Regions from separate parts of the Homo sapiens genome. Here all the other regions are linked to region 1. The links are contacts of gene promoters, found by promoter capture Hi-C in blood cells and fetal thymus (Javierre and others, 2016). All regions are on one chromosome and are shown on one strand. Each heading gives the region's core, a stretch centred on a gene start or on the middle of the fragment in contact. The rest is flanking DNA. Distances are from core to core; before and after follow the strand shown.

Region 1 (3,068 bases), core at 176-2,675:
ATCAGCTAGTACCCTCAACAGTACCTGGCACAACACTCCATTATGAAGAAACAAAGATGAATTAGAAATGGATCAACACCTGTGAAAGAAGGGAAGAAAAAAATAAAAGAAATGGAACTTGTTCTAAAAAAGTTTATTAACGTATACACAGAAATCAGTATTATATCTGATCTAAGAGTATAATGAATCCTTCATTTCCAGGAATCTAGAGATAGTCTCTAAAATAAAATTAATGAATTTATAGATTTGTTTCTCAGGACAATAAAGTTTAAAAAAATTAATCTATTTTTCCACTTTAATTTGTCACCTTCAAGTTTTCCATTTTATTTCCTCTGGGTTTTAGCCTTCCTAAATCTGGTCACTTCACTAAGTTCACAGAGTCACTTAAGTTTCTCCTTCCTTAGGTTTGGATGGTTACGTTAGGACAAGCCTATAGTTAAGGCAATCTAATAGAACAGAACAGTGACAGATGCATAGTAAACATTAGGGAACCTGTGTGCGTGGAGCCACAGAAGCTTAGAACTTGGAGACGTGACCCTAGATCACCATATATAATGTTTGCAAATATTTTTATGGTATTCTTTTTCTGCTCAGAAGGAAACTGTAGAAATTAAATACTGCAGAAATTTGAGTTCTACACTCAGACTAAAGCAAACACATGGTCACGTGTGTTAATCTGTTTGTACTTAAAGCTTTTCCATTCTAAACTGGTTTACATGTCCTGGACTAAATCTTAGTATTAAAGGCACAGAAACACAGAACTCTAAGGGACCTCATTCACAACCATTCACCTTAACTGAGTCAATTCAGAAGGGACCTGAAATCTAGAGTTGACCGATTTATCCGACAGAGAGAGAAAAAAGTGAAACATTTTTGAACCCTTATCAATAGGTTTTGGCTTACTTTTCCCAAAACAGAATCCTCCCTGAGGTAGTCGGAGAGCAGAGTCCTGGACAGCAGTTCCGTGCACTAGGGAAGGAAATTTTAGAGTCGAGTGATGCAGGCGGAGACCCTGCGGCTGAGAACGGGCGATGCGGGTGTTGCTGTGACCCCTGGAATGCAAAGGACTGCACCCCCATCAGAAAGTTAGAAAGCCAGTGCAGAGTAGCCAGGAGTCCTGTTCACTCGGCAGGAGCAGGGGTGCCGAGTGGGGGGATCTCTGGTCCCGCAGCTCGGCCGCCACCAAGAGCCCGAAGTGCTGGGCGCGGTGCCACCAGAGGCCCGCCACGCCCCACGCCGCCCTGCAGGCGAACGCTGGAGGCCCCGCCGGGCCGCCGTAGCGCTGCGGCTCGGGCCGCTCCTCCCGCGCCGCCCTCCGCCCCCAGCCTCCCGGCGCCGCGGCAGCTCTGGGCAGGGAGCGCCGCCGCCGCCGCCGCCGCCGCCGCTTCCTCGTCTGCAGCCGTTCGGCCGCTGCGTGACGCGTCGTTTCCTCCCAACATGGCGGCCGGGGCAGGTCGGCGGTGATGGGGGCCAGTTCGCGGCCGCGGCGGGTGCTAATCCCCACAGTAGCCAGGGTAGCCCTTCTCTCGCGGTGCCTCTGAGAGCCGCCGCCACCTCGTCCCTCAGTTCCCGGCAGACAGCCGCCCGGGCCGGGCTCCCTCACCGCCACCAGGGCCGGAGGGACGAGTGAGAGGGGCGGCCGGGACGCGACCCCCGGGCCGGGAGAAGCGGAGGCCCGACGGGCGCGGCCCTCGAGGTACGGCTTCTTGGGGGCGGCGAGGACCTCGACGCCCTTCGCCGACACCGCGGCTGGTCCCGCTCGCCCGCCCCTTCCTGATCCTGCCGCTGCCCTCCACGCCTCCAATCCCCCACCTCCACCCCCTCTCCTTTCTCTCTTCTCTTCCTTCCTCTCCTCCTCCTCCCCTCCAGCCGCTGGGAGCCGCGGGTCGGACGAGCCGCCGCCTCCTTCTCTGCGTCCATGTATGAGGGGAAGAAGACGAAGAACATGTTCCTGACCCGGGCTCTGGAGAAGATATTGGCCGACAAGGAAGTGAAGAAGGCGCATCACTCCCAGCTGCGCAAAGCTTGCGAGGTGGCGTTAGGTGAGCGGGGAGGAGGCCCGGGGGATGGGGTGCTTGTTGTGGGGCGGGGAGGGGGGCGCCTGTGGGGGGGTGGGGTCGCCCGGGGCTTGCCCGAGGCCCGCGCCTCTGACCTCGGGAAGCCCTCGCGGAGCCCTCTGTTCCCTGTCTGGAGTTGACAGGAACTCGGCTGGATGTGGGGCAGAGGCGGGGTAGAGGAGGAAGGGCAGTGAGCTGGGCTCGGGAAACGCGGCAGGGCTTAGGATCGCGGGGCACCTGGGTTCGAGGGATCGACTTGAGAGTGAGAGGATTTTGTTGGTGGTCCGTGAGGTGCGGACTGGATACCACCCTTTGTGATGAAGCAGAAGATGAGCTGTTGTTTATTAGCTTGGAAATTGAGGTGGGGCTGGTATGTCAAGATTGGGTGTGGGAAAGGTTCCGTATCATAATTAACAATAACTTTTTCGTTTGGCGAGGTACTTTGGGGAGATAGGCTGCTGAAGTTGTTTCCTTGTTGACAGTCTTGAGAAGGGGTTTGCAAGAGGTGCAGCCCGTTCTGACATCTCTCCGCCTCCGCCACAGGAAAAACATAGAGTAATATTGTATCTGACTGGGCTGACCTGGAAGAACAAGACCGGTGGTTAAGGGGTGAGGGTGGGGGTGGCGGCATGAAAGCAGGGAAGCAAAGAACCTTTAGATAAAATGGCTTTAGGTGACAAGGGAAGGGAGGGTTTGAAATGAGGAAAATGAAAAAGACAATGACACCCACCAGCCACATGTCTGGACAGTGGCAGCTGCTCTCAAGCTTGAATTGTGATTTATAGTTCAGATGGAAGAGATCTAGTGTAATGAAGCCCGCAGCAGGGAAAATCCAAACAATACCTCCTACCTATGAGGTTAGGCAGATGAGGAGTTGTTAAAGGGGGAACATTGTTAGATCTATTGCATCCATCAAAGTTGAAATCGTTTGAGAGACCAGAACATTTAACACAAAGATACATTCCTAATGTTTACACTTTATAGCACTGGAAATACACTAGGTCAAATTGG
Region 2 (3,068 bases), core at 310-2,809, 400 kb before region 1:
GTGATATAATATGACAGATTTATACATTGTTCTGACATAGCGAAATGCAAAGAGATGAAGTGTTTTATTTACACAGTAACCTCTTATTTCCACAGATCATTGGCTTTCCTGGGCTCATCTAAAAGGCCTGTGAGTACTGCTGTGAGTCTTGCAGAGCAGCCTGACCAGTTTAGGAAGACAAAAGTACAAGGCCAGGAAGTCAGGAAAGAAGGCAACATAAAAAAGAAACGAAACCAGACATGATCACCCGGGGAACTTCCACTCTCCAAAAGCACCCATAGTGTTCTCTGCTCCCAAGGTGCTCTCTCCTCTATCTGGACACAGAAGCATCTATGTTAATGTTTGTTAAATGAATTTCTTCCCTGGTTCATCGTTCATCCAACAGACATCGTTGATCACTCCTTCAGGAAACATTGTATTCCCTCGAGGAGGTATAAGGAAGTGCACAGGAAGACCAAAAGGATACAGTTCTGTATTCAAGGAGAAAGCAGCCTCATGAGGAAACCAGACAAGAAATTTGATGTGGTAATTCCTACAGTAGAGGACATGCCAGGATTTGTGAGGGACACAGAGGAGGCATTAACCAAACTGATGCTGAGAAAGTTGCAGAAAAATTCAGAGCATCATTTCAAATGAAAACCATTTCAGCTGTTTCATGAACCTGACATTGAATCTGTCAAAGGAGTTTTGGTTCAACTCCCCAGGTAGAGAAGATGGGAAAGATTGGGTGCTCTCTCTTCTAACAGGGACTCTGGCTATAGTATTAGAGGGTACAGGAGTTCTTGGCTATGACTCTCCAGGAAGCCTGAAAAGTTTTGTGAGTGTGATGAGGAAATAGTGGCTCACTCTCTGTTTTAGAGCACAACCAGGACTGGGCATGAAAGGTAACAGGAGGCACCCTAGGTGCCTATGCTTATTTAATAGGGCGAGGCACATCCCCTGTAATGGGTTTTGTGGCGTATTGGAATAGGAGCAAGTGGATGCAAATAATAATTTTAAAAAGCTTTCATCATCAACATGGGAAAAAAGAGAAGGAAATGGTTTTCTCCAAGGTTTGCTTGGAAGAAAAAGCAGACCTCATTCTAAAGTGAAGTCTTGCTACTCCAAGTGTGGCTGAAGAGCCAGTGGCACCAGCATCACCTGGAAGCTTCTTTAGAAATGCAGACTCGGCCAGGCGTGGTGGCTCACACCTGTAATCCCAGCACTTCGCAAGGCCGAGACAAGCAGATTGCCTGAGGTCACGAGTTCAAGACCAGCCTGACCGACATGGGGAAACCTCGTCTCTACTAAAAATACAAAAATTAGCTGGGCGTGGTGGTAGGCACCTGTAATCCGAGCTACTCAGGAGGCTGAGGCAGGAGAATCGCTTGAACCTGGGAGGCGGAGGTTGCAGTGAGCCGAGATGGGGACTTGGCACTCCATCCAGCCTGGGCAACAAGAGCGAAACTCTGTCTCAAAAAAGAAAAATAAAAACTCTTAGGCCCCTGTTCCAACCTACGTCAGAGCTGCAGTTTAATGAGATCCCCAGGTGACTTCTATGCATGTGGAGCTCTGAGAAGCCCTGCTCCAGACCAGCATGGTGGTTGAATATTGGAATCACCTAAGGAGCTTTTTAAACCACTGATCCCACCACCACGGTTTCTATTTTCAAGGTCTGGCTCCCTAAATGATTCCAAATGTACAGCCAAGGTGGCAAAGCACTCGAAGGCCTCCTATTCCCCACGAGAACCTCTGAAACAGCAGCAGGTCTGGGTGCTGCTGATGCAGAATGAGTACCAAGATCTCCCTGAAGCCCAATAAAGCCACTGACCACTCCTGTAAGTCAGGAGCAGTGAACTGAAGCCAGCTGTTCGGATCTGGGTGCTATAGGTACCCCCGTGCACGTTCTCATCATGATTGTTCATTGTGCATTTCATTAGGTGGAATCCGTTTAGGAATCTGTCATGGGAGATCAAAAAAACATTAAGCTTGGAATAATCCATGTCTGCTTGTTTAGCCCATCAGACAAATCATTTGCAATTAGGTAGGATCCTCATGCTGAAGAAGATAGAGAAAGAAAGCTTGCACAGAAAAGTTAGAGGCCTCAAGTTGGGAAAGCAAACAAACCAAAAGCAGAGAGGAGTCACCCAAAGGAAGCAGCACCCAGTGAACCCCTGCCGTGAGTCAGCACGAGGGAGGCCCAGCCCTTTCTAGGGGAGCCTGATTAAAGATCAGGCTCAGCTGCTGCTGCTGCTGCTGCTGCTTGTCCCAAGACCAAGTCGTAATAGCAACTTCCCTTCCTCAGCTGCCTGAACTTTTTTTTTCCCTTGTAGCTGGAGAGAAGTGTCACATTTTGCTCACTCTCAACCTTCCTCGCCCACCCCCTTCCCGGAGAACCTGTGCGGTGTGTAGAGGGTGCTGTGAGCCACCTCCAGCCTCGGGTGGCTGCTTAAGTAACTTTCAACTCCTCTCTTCTTAACACTATGAAGTGTCTCGGGAAGCGCAGGGGCCAGGCAGCTGCTTTCCTGCCTCTTTGCTGGCTCTTTTTGAAGATTCTGCAACCGGGGCACAGCCACCTTTATAACAACCGCTATGCTGGGTAAGTGGAGCGACATTCATGCCCTACACAGCTTTGATTTGGATCTGGGGGCTGGTTTGCTCCAGAGTGTGCCTCACTTTTTCTGATTTGGGGGTCTCTGAGTGAATCTGCACACTTTCACGGTCCTCTATATAAAATGTACTCACAGCTCTCTGCTCTTGGCTTTAGCTCACTGAGAGAATGTGGTGGGCTCCAACCTGGCTTTTTATACTTTTTATCATGTGCCAACCTTAGCTGTGGACCCAGGGTTGAATGGGATTCTGTCTTTGGAGTAGCCATGGTCAGTATTTACAGTGTTTGCCTTGGTTGATGCTTGGGGATGCTGTTGTCCTACATGATTTATGACCTGAAAACTAAGCCTTTCTTTACAATTGTATGTAGGAGCGGTGGGTTGAAATTCATCAGTGATTAAGAACTGAGTGTGATTTTTTTTTTGTCTGTGCTTATTAGTCTGTAGAGTGGTTATTAGATTTTTAAATATGAGCAATGC
Region 3 (3,068 bases), core at 220-2,719, 350 kb before region 1:
TTGAAGCGAAGAGGTCAACACTTTCACAGAGACCTATGATTTAATGGTGAAGAAATAATACTAACTTCCCACTAATGGGGCCATTTTTGCTGTTGCCACTTCATAAACCCAGCAGTTAAAGGGCAGCACTTCTGTGTGATTCTAGTTGTAATGAAAAATAGTTTATCCTGCACACTTTTGAAATAATATAGCTTAGGAAGACATGATTTACACATAATAGATTATAGCAAGAAAGATAAACTTCACTGTTAAAAATCTTAATTGGGAAAAAAGCTTACTATTGATCATTAAAACATTTTACAGAGAATCTTCAATAAAATAGCAGAGTGGTGAAATGTATTATGTTAGACTCATGGAAAAAAATTATATGTTCAAGCAGCTGCCAGCACATAGTTCACACTTTAGCAAGTGAGATATGCCTTCCTCATACTCAAGTTTTACCAATCTCTTGTTCTTTTTTTTTTTTTTTTTTTTTTTGAGACAGGATTTCACTCTTGTTGCCCAGGCTGTAGTACAATCTCGGCTCACCGCAACCTCTGCTTCCTGGATTCAAGCGATTCTCCTGCCTCAGCCACCCGAGTAGCTGGGATTAGAGGCATGCGCCACCATGCCCGGCTAATTTTGTATTTTTAGTAGAGATGAGGTTTCTCCACGTTGGTCAGGCTGGTCTCAAACTCCCAACCTCAGGTGATCCGCTGGCCTCGGCCTCCCAAAGTGCTGGGATTACAGGCTTGAACCACCATACCCAGCCCAATCTCTTGTTCTTTAAAATTGTTTTTCATCTCTGCATGGGCAACTGCCAGGACAAAAAGATAACATATTAATTAAACAACTCCAGCATGGCTCATAAGGAAGTTATTCTCTATCAACCAGAAAAGGATCTGGGTTGGAATTAAATGTTTGGAGTTTAGTCTTAATTTATTGATTCATGTTTTGGTCTCAAACAAATAACACTTCCAAGCACTATCCCCCTTCTAAAATGAGCCTGTACTAATATACTACTTCATTATTTTTACTAAAAGCCAATTCCCTGAAATCTACTCAGCATTTCAAAGTGCTGTGTAGATAAAACATAAGATATATTTTTAACATGTCTGTGAAGAAACTTGGTAAGGTATTTTACAGAGATATTTACATCTTGAATTTAAATATCACAAATCAACATAGTCACAGAAATATATGAGGAGCATTAAAAGCATGTTTTTTGCTCCTGACAGTGTGATGGGGGCTGGGCGTGCTCTGCTCCCACAAACACTCAGGGATCCAGGCTATTTTGTCTTCCCACCACCTTCTCAGGCCTCAGTCTTGTAGTGTATCCTCTGCATCCTTCAGCAAATGAGGAAAGAGAAAGGCAAAAATGATTTCAAGGGCAGTTTTGGGGGACAGGCCTGAAAGATACATAAATCACTTTCCAGCCACGTGCCAGTGACAAGACTGGTCACTGATGGCCACCTAAATTAAGGGAGCCAAAAAATACAGTCCACAGTGTACCAAGGAAGGAGAAGAACACAAAGATATTGATAGTCACCACCAACCTCGATCACAGGTGTAGAGCTGTGCGCTTACATAAATCCATAGCATGTACTCTACTTGAACAGATGTATGAAGTCAATATGAGTTATTTCTAGAAGGCTAAGAGACAAATATTTGGTTCTTGTGTGAATTTCCTCGTTTTCTTTGTTTTTTAAATGTTTCCTTTTGTATTACTAAGTGAATGGGAAAAAGAAAAGTAACAAATGCTTGTAGTTACCAGAATGTAATTTTCAAGTTAATGTACAGAAAGTTTTCCGTCAGGGAATGCCTTTTATTTAGGTGTTAGTCACTCATTGTTTATTATTGTGTTTATACAAAAACTGATTTGTACATTAAACTTAGTGTAGATGAATTTGTACCATGCTAACTTGGTAGAAAAGTTATATTTGTTATCTTAAGTTTGTATTCATTGGCATTTCATTGTTGCTTGAAATATATCCCACACTTGAATATGAAGTATGACATATTTCCTGCAATCTAGCCAAAAATTAAATATGTATTGAAGTTGAAAATTTAAAATCTGTTGATTCACTCTTCCTGACTTGTATTTTTTTTAGCTGATAAGACTTTCCTTCTAATGCTTCCTCTTCTAATATTCTTTTCTAATATTTCCTCTTCTAATGTGTCTTACATCAGCTTCTCTGGTTGATGTAGCTGTTTATATTGCTTTTCAGAGTTTAATAGGGGTCCAAATTTCAGGAGTTCTGACTCTGAACACTAATATTGCTTCACACAGCATTTATGGTTTAAATAACATACCTTAGAACAAGCACTGATGTGCTGATTTGAATGTGTGACTGAAAATATCACACATCTCAAGTAGATTGCTAGAACCAAATTTCTCAACAAATTTACTTGATGTGCTGAGAAATAGTCATACAGATCTTTAAACTTCTAATTTGTAATAGTAATTAATATTCATTAACTCTAAATTATTTATTTCTGTTGCCATCGACATCTTAAAAATATTAACCTCTGATATATCAAAAATTGATTCTAAAAAATGAGAATTCTATGCAGACCAGTCCACTTAGCTGCCAGATCAAATGTTATAGAATTTGATTAACATTAATTGAACCACCTATAAGATACAGAACTGAGTAACACACAGTTCCTCTACATGAGAAGCTTATATCTTCAGAAAAACAAATAACCCTATTAAAAAGTAGGCAAAAGACATACACAGACATTTCTCTAAAGAAGACATAAAAGCAGCCAACAAACATATAAAAAAATTCATTATCATTCATTATCAGAGAAATGCAAATCAAAACCACAATGAGGATACCATCTCACATCAGTCAGAATGGCCATTATGAAAAAGTGAAAAACCAACAGATGTTGGCAAGGCTGTAGAGAAAAGGGAATGCTTATTCACTGTTGGTGGGAATATAAATTAGTTCAGCCAATGTGGAAAGCAGTTTGGAGATTTCTTGAAGAACTTAAAACAGAACTACCATTCAACCCAGTAATCCCATTACTGGGTATATACCCAAAGGAAAAGAAATCATTCTACCAAAAAGACACATGCACTT
Region 4 (3,068 bases), core at 323-2,822, 260 kb before region 1:
CCCTTTCTCTGGGACTTCTAGCCATAAGCCTTGTGGATCCACTGACTATCACAGATCACTAGGTCCCCACATCCATGGGATCCATATTCACATATTCAAACAACCATGGATGGAAAACATGCAAAAAAAAAAAAAAAAAAGCAATACAATAATACAAAAATACAAATTTTTAAAATATAACAGCTATATAACATTTACATTGTATTAGGCATTATAAGTAATCTAGAGTTGTTTTAAGGTATACAGGAGAATGTGTGTAGGTTATATGCAAATACCAGGGCATTTTATATCAGGAACTTGAGCATCTGCAAATTTTGGTATCCATGGGGGCCCTAGAACCAATTAATCCCCATTCAATACCAAGGGATGAATGTAGTTTATATTTTAGAAAATCTAACACAGACTGAGAACTTAACAAGCATACTCATTCCACAAACAGATCTAAATGGAATACTCTATGTTGGGCATTGGATGAATCACACATGGTATTGTGAGGACACAACCATGAGTAGAAACTGGACTTCAGACAAGGAGCTCAGAGAGAGTTATTAGGTCATCCAGAGCAAAAAAAGAAAAAGAAAAAAAAAAAAACGTGGCTGGGCACAGTGGCTCATGGCTGTAATCCCAACAGTTTTGGAGGCCAAGGCATGTGGATCACCTGAGGTCAGGAGATCAAGAGCAGCCTGGCCAACATGGTGAAACCCCATCTCTACTAAAAATACAAAAAAAAATTAGGCATGGTGACAGGTGCCTGTAGTCCCAGCTACTTGGGAGGCTGAGGCGGGAAAATCGCTTGAACCCGGGAGGTGGAGGTTGCAGTGAGCTGAGACCGCACCATTGCACTCCAGCCCGGGTAAAAAGAATGAAACTCAATCTCAAAAAACAAACAAACAAAACGCAAAGTTGATAGAACCTCCACAGATTTTTCTCTAATCTCCACGTGTCCTATGTTTCCCAGTCTCTGAGCGTTGTATGTACAAATGTAGAAACAAATTCCACAAATGTTTATTAAGGGACTCTGTGCCAGGCACTGTTCTGGATGCTGAGGGATACAGCAGGAAACACAACCAACAATCCCTGTCCTCAAGAAACTTCATATTGTGGTGGAGAGAGATTAACAAAAAACAAATAAGTAAAAAATATGGTATATCAGATGGTCATGGTTGTAGGGAAACGTAAAGCAGGGAAAAAGGTAAGGGACGCAATGTAATTTTAAATGGAATGACCGGTCAGGGAAGAAGACATCATTAAAAATGTGGCATTTGAGCAAAGGTCTGAAGGAGGCGAGGGTGAGCTGTTATTGCCACATCTTTGGGAATAACCACCGCTTCCTTCTTTACCAGGCAGAAGGGCCAGTCTCGGACACTAGCTCATCAGAAAGCTTTTGCTAACTGCCACAACCAGATGTGTTCCTTCTATTTTTTCGAGTCCTTGAAGATCTTTGTTATTCTCTTACACAATCTGTTCTCAGATTCTGGTTTCCTTACTGAAACACATGTTCTCATTCACTCCAGTGTTTTGAGGAACAACAAACCAATCTGATTAGGATAACCCAAGGTTAATAAGTTGTAGCTCTATTTTACCTTAACCCCACACAACCTCCATCACCAGCTGACATATTTTGAAATTGACAATTGACATTTTCTCAACATCATTTCACCCTTTCCAATCAAATTACTGTTCACACACCCTTTCCACATACAAATTCTGCCTTTCATGCCTCATATACAGAGGAAACCTTTTTTGAAAAAGATGTAAGCTTTTTAATCAGAAGGACAAAAAGTGTTAATGACACCATAGAGACCTATGAAAGAGAGTGGAGGCAAAAGCAAAGCAAAACCAAACTATTGCAGAACTGCAGTTTTAGTTTGATCTGGGGTTAGCAAAGAGAAGTTTTAGAAATAACCTAGCACTGAGTGATTCAGTGTTTTGGCTCAAAAGGAAGGTAGATGGGAAAAATCTAATTTGCCTGGGTACTTTTTTCAGACTATCTTACGAAATATGGACTACCACAACCCCAGGTGATTGTAAAGGAAAACTTAGTAAACACTGATTATAGATCTGAGGGTTCCCAATACTATTCAAAGAATCCACAGTTAACTGTCTTCAACTTTTTTCAACAAAAATCTATGGACATGCTTTAGGGACTATGAGTTCCACTTAGCCATTTTAAACATATAGATCCTGTCTTCCTTTTAATGACATTCTTCATTCCACTTAGAAAATCATAACCCTGAAAGAAATATAATAAAGTACAGATCTCTTTATATAATAAATGTGTTTGTAATTTAATGAGAAGTTAAATACATTCCTAAATGTTTCACTTCAAAGAATTTTGTAAAAAAAAAAAATTGTTAAAATTAAAACAGTTTGGGACAAACCCTGCATCCTTCTCCACTTGGGAGGTAAAGAATACATGTATGTTACTGAAAGCTGAAAGTAACCTCCTGTACTTAATTTGGAAACATTTCAAGAATATAATTCTTGTACTATATAGAAGGATTATTCCTAAAAACAAAATGACCTTTGGAACCAAAAGCATTTTCTTAAAGTAATAGGCCAGATTGAACCTCAAAAATAGGAACTTATTTCTTTTCAGTATGGCCACACAAAAATCATTTTTGTCACACTTAGCTTCTTGCTTATAATGAGACCATTGGCTTTTGGGTTCGTTTTTTGTTTTTTGTTTTTCTTTTTAAGGAAGATAGAGAAAGCACAGAATTATAAAACTCTTCTTATGTAACACTTTTCTATCAAGGGGTTCCAAATTATTTATAAAATGTTAGCTCATTTAATTCTCACAGCTCCCAAGCAGGTTCAGAAATGACATGCGGTATTTATGATGGACTTTGTCTCAGTTTCTGCTGGGGAACATGAGTCACTGCTACTCTTGCAGCAGAAATGAAGCTATAATTTCCTGACATCCGGTCGAGGCGCTAACCTGACCTCATTCCAACTCTCCAAGTTCAGCAGTTGTGTTCCAATTTTGGTTTTATTTATATTTCTCTAAGATCTGGCAGTGAACTGTCATAAATCATGCCTTCATGCAGGACTTGATGAGATATGAG

Evidence for each region. Contacts are between HindIII fragments. The CHiCAGO score rates a contact against its expected background, and 5 or more counts as called.
Region 2: a fragment that was not itself captured here is called in contact with the fragment with the promoter of ARFGEF1 in region 1 in 1 of 17 cell types (fetal thymus); the score reaches 5.0 in fetal thymus.
Region 3: a fragment that was not itself captured here is called in contact with the fragment with the promoter of ARFGEF1 in region 1 in 1 of 17 cell types (M1 macrophages); the score reaches 5.2 in M1 macrophages.
Region 4: a fragment that was not itself captured here is called in contact with the fragment with the promoter of ARFGEF1 in region 1 in 1 of 17 cell types (M1 macrophages); the score reaches 6.1 in M1 macrophages.

What each region holds. Positions count from the first base shown.
Region 1 is chr8:67,342,138-67,345,205 of GRCh38, reverse strand. ARFGEF1 (ARF guanine nucleotide exchange factor 1) reads left to right here and starts at 1,425. Exons shown (of 39, transcript NM_006421.5): 1 at 1,425-2,042. The coding sequence starts at 1,919. It overlaps ARFGEF1-DT (ARFGEF1 divergent transcript), which reads right to left and starts at 1,372. Exons shown (of 5, transcript NR_136224.1): 1 at 904-1,372. RefSeq lists silencers at 1,135-1,394, 1,575-1,804 and an enhancer at 1,731-2,411. The HindIII fragment of the contact is 1,332 bases long and covers 695-2,026 here.
Region 2 is chr8:67,745,524-67,748,591 of GRCh38, reverse strand. CPA6 (carboxypeptidase A6) reads left to right here and starts at 2,232. Exons shown (of 11, transcript NM_020361.5): 1 at 2,232-2,578. The coding sequence starts at 2,463. RefSeq lists an enhancer at 1,906-2,406. The HindIII fragment of the contact is 820 bases long and covers 1,150-1,969 here.
Region 3 is chr8:67,689,738-67,692,805 of GRCh38, reverse strand. All of the region lies in intron 1 of CPA6 (carboxypeptidase A6), which reads left to right. Among named protein-coding and RNA genes, the nearest start is that of CPA6, 55 kb to the left of the region's middle. The HindIII fragment of the contact is 2,388 bases long and covers 276-2,663 here.
Region 4 is chr8:67,602,604-67,605,671 of GRCh38, reverse strand. All of the region lies in intron 2 of CPA6 (carboxypeptidase A6), which reads left to right. All of the region lies in intron 2 of LOC105375886 (a long non-coding RNA gene), which reads right to left. Among named protein-coding and RNA genes, the nearest start is that of CPA6, 140 kb to the left of the region's middle. The HindIII fragment of the contact is 378 bases long and covers 1,384-1,761 here.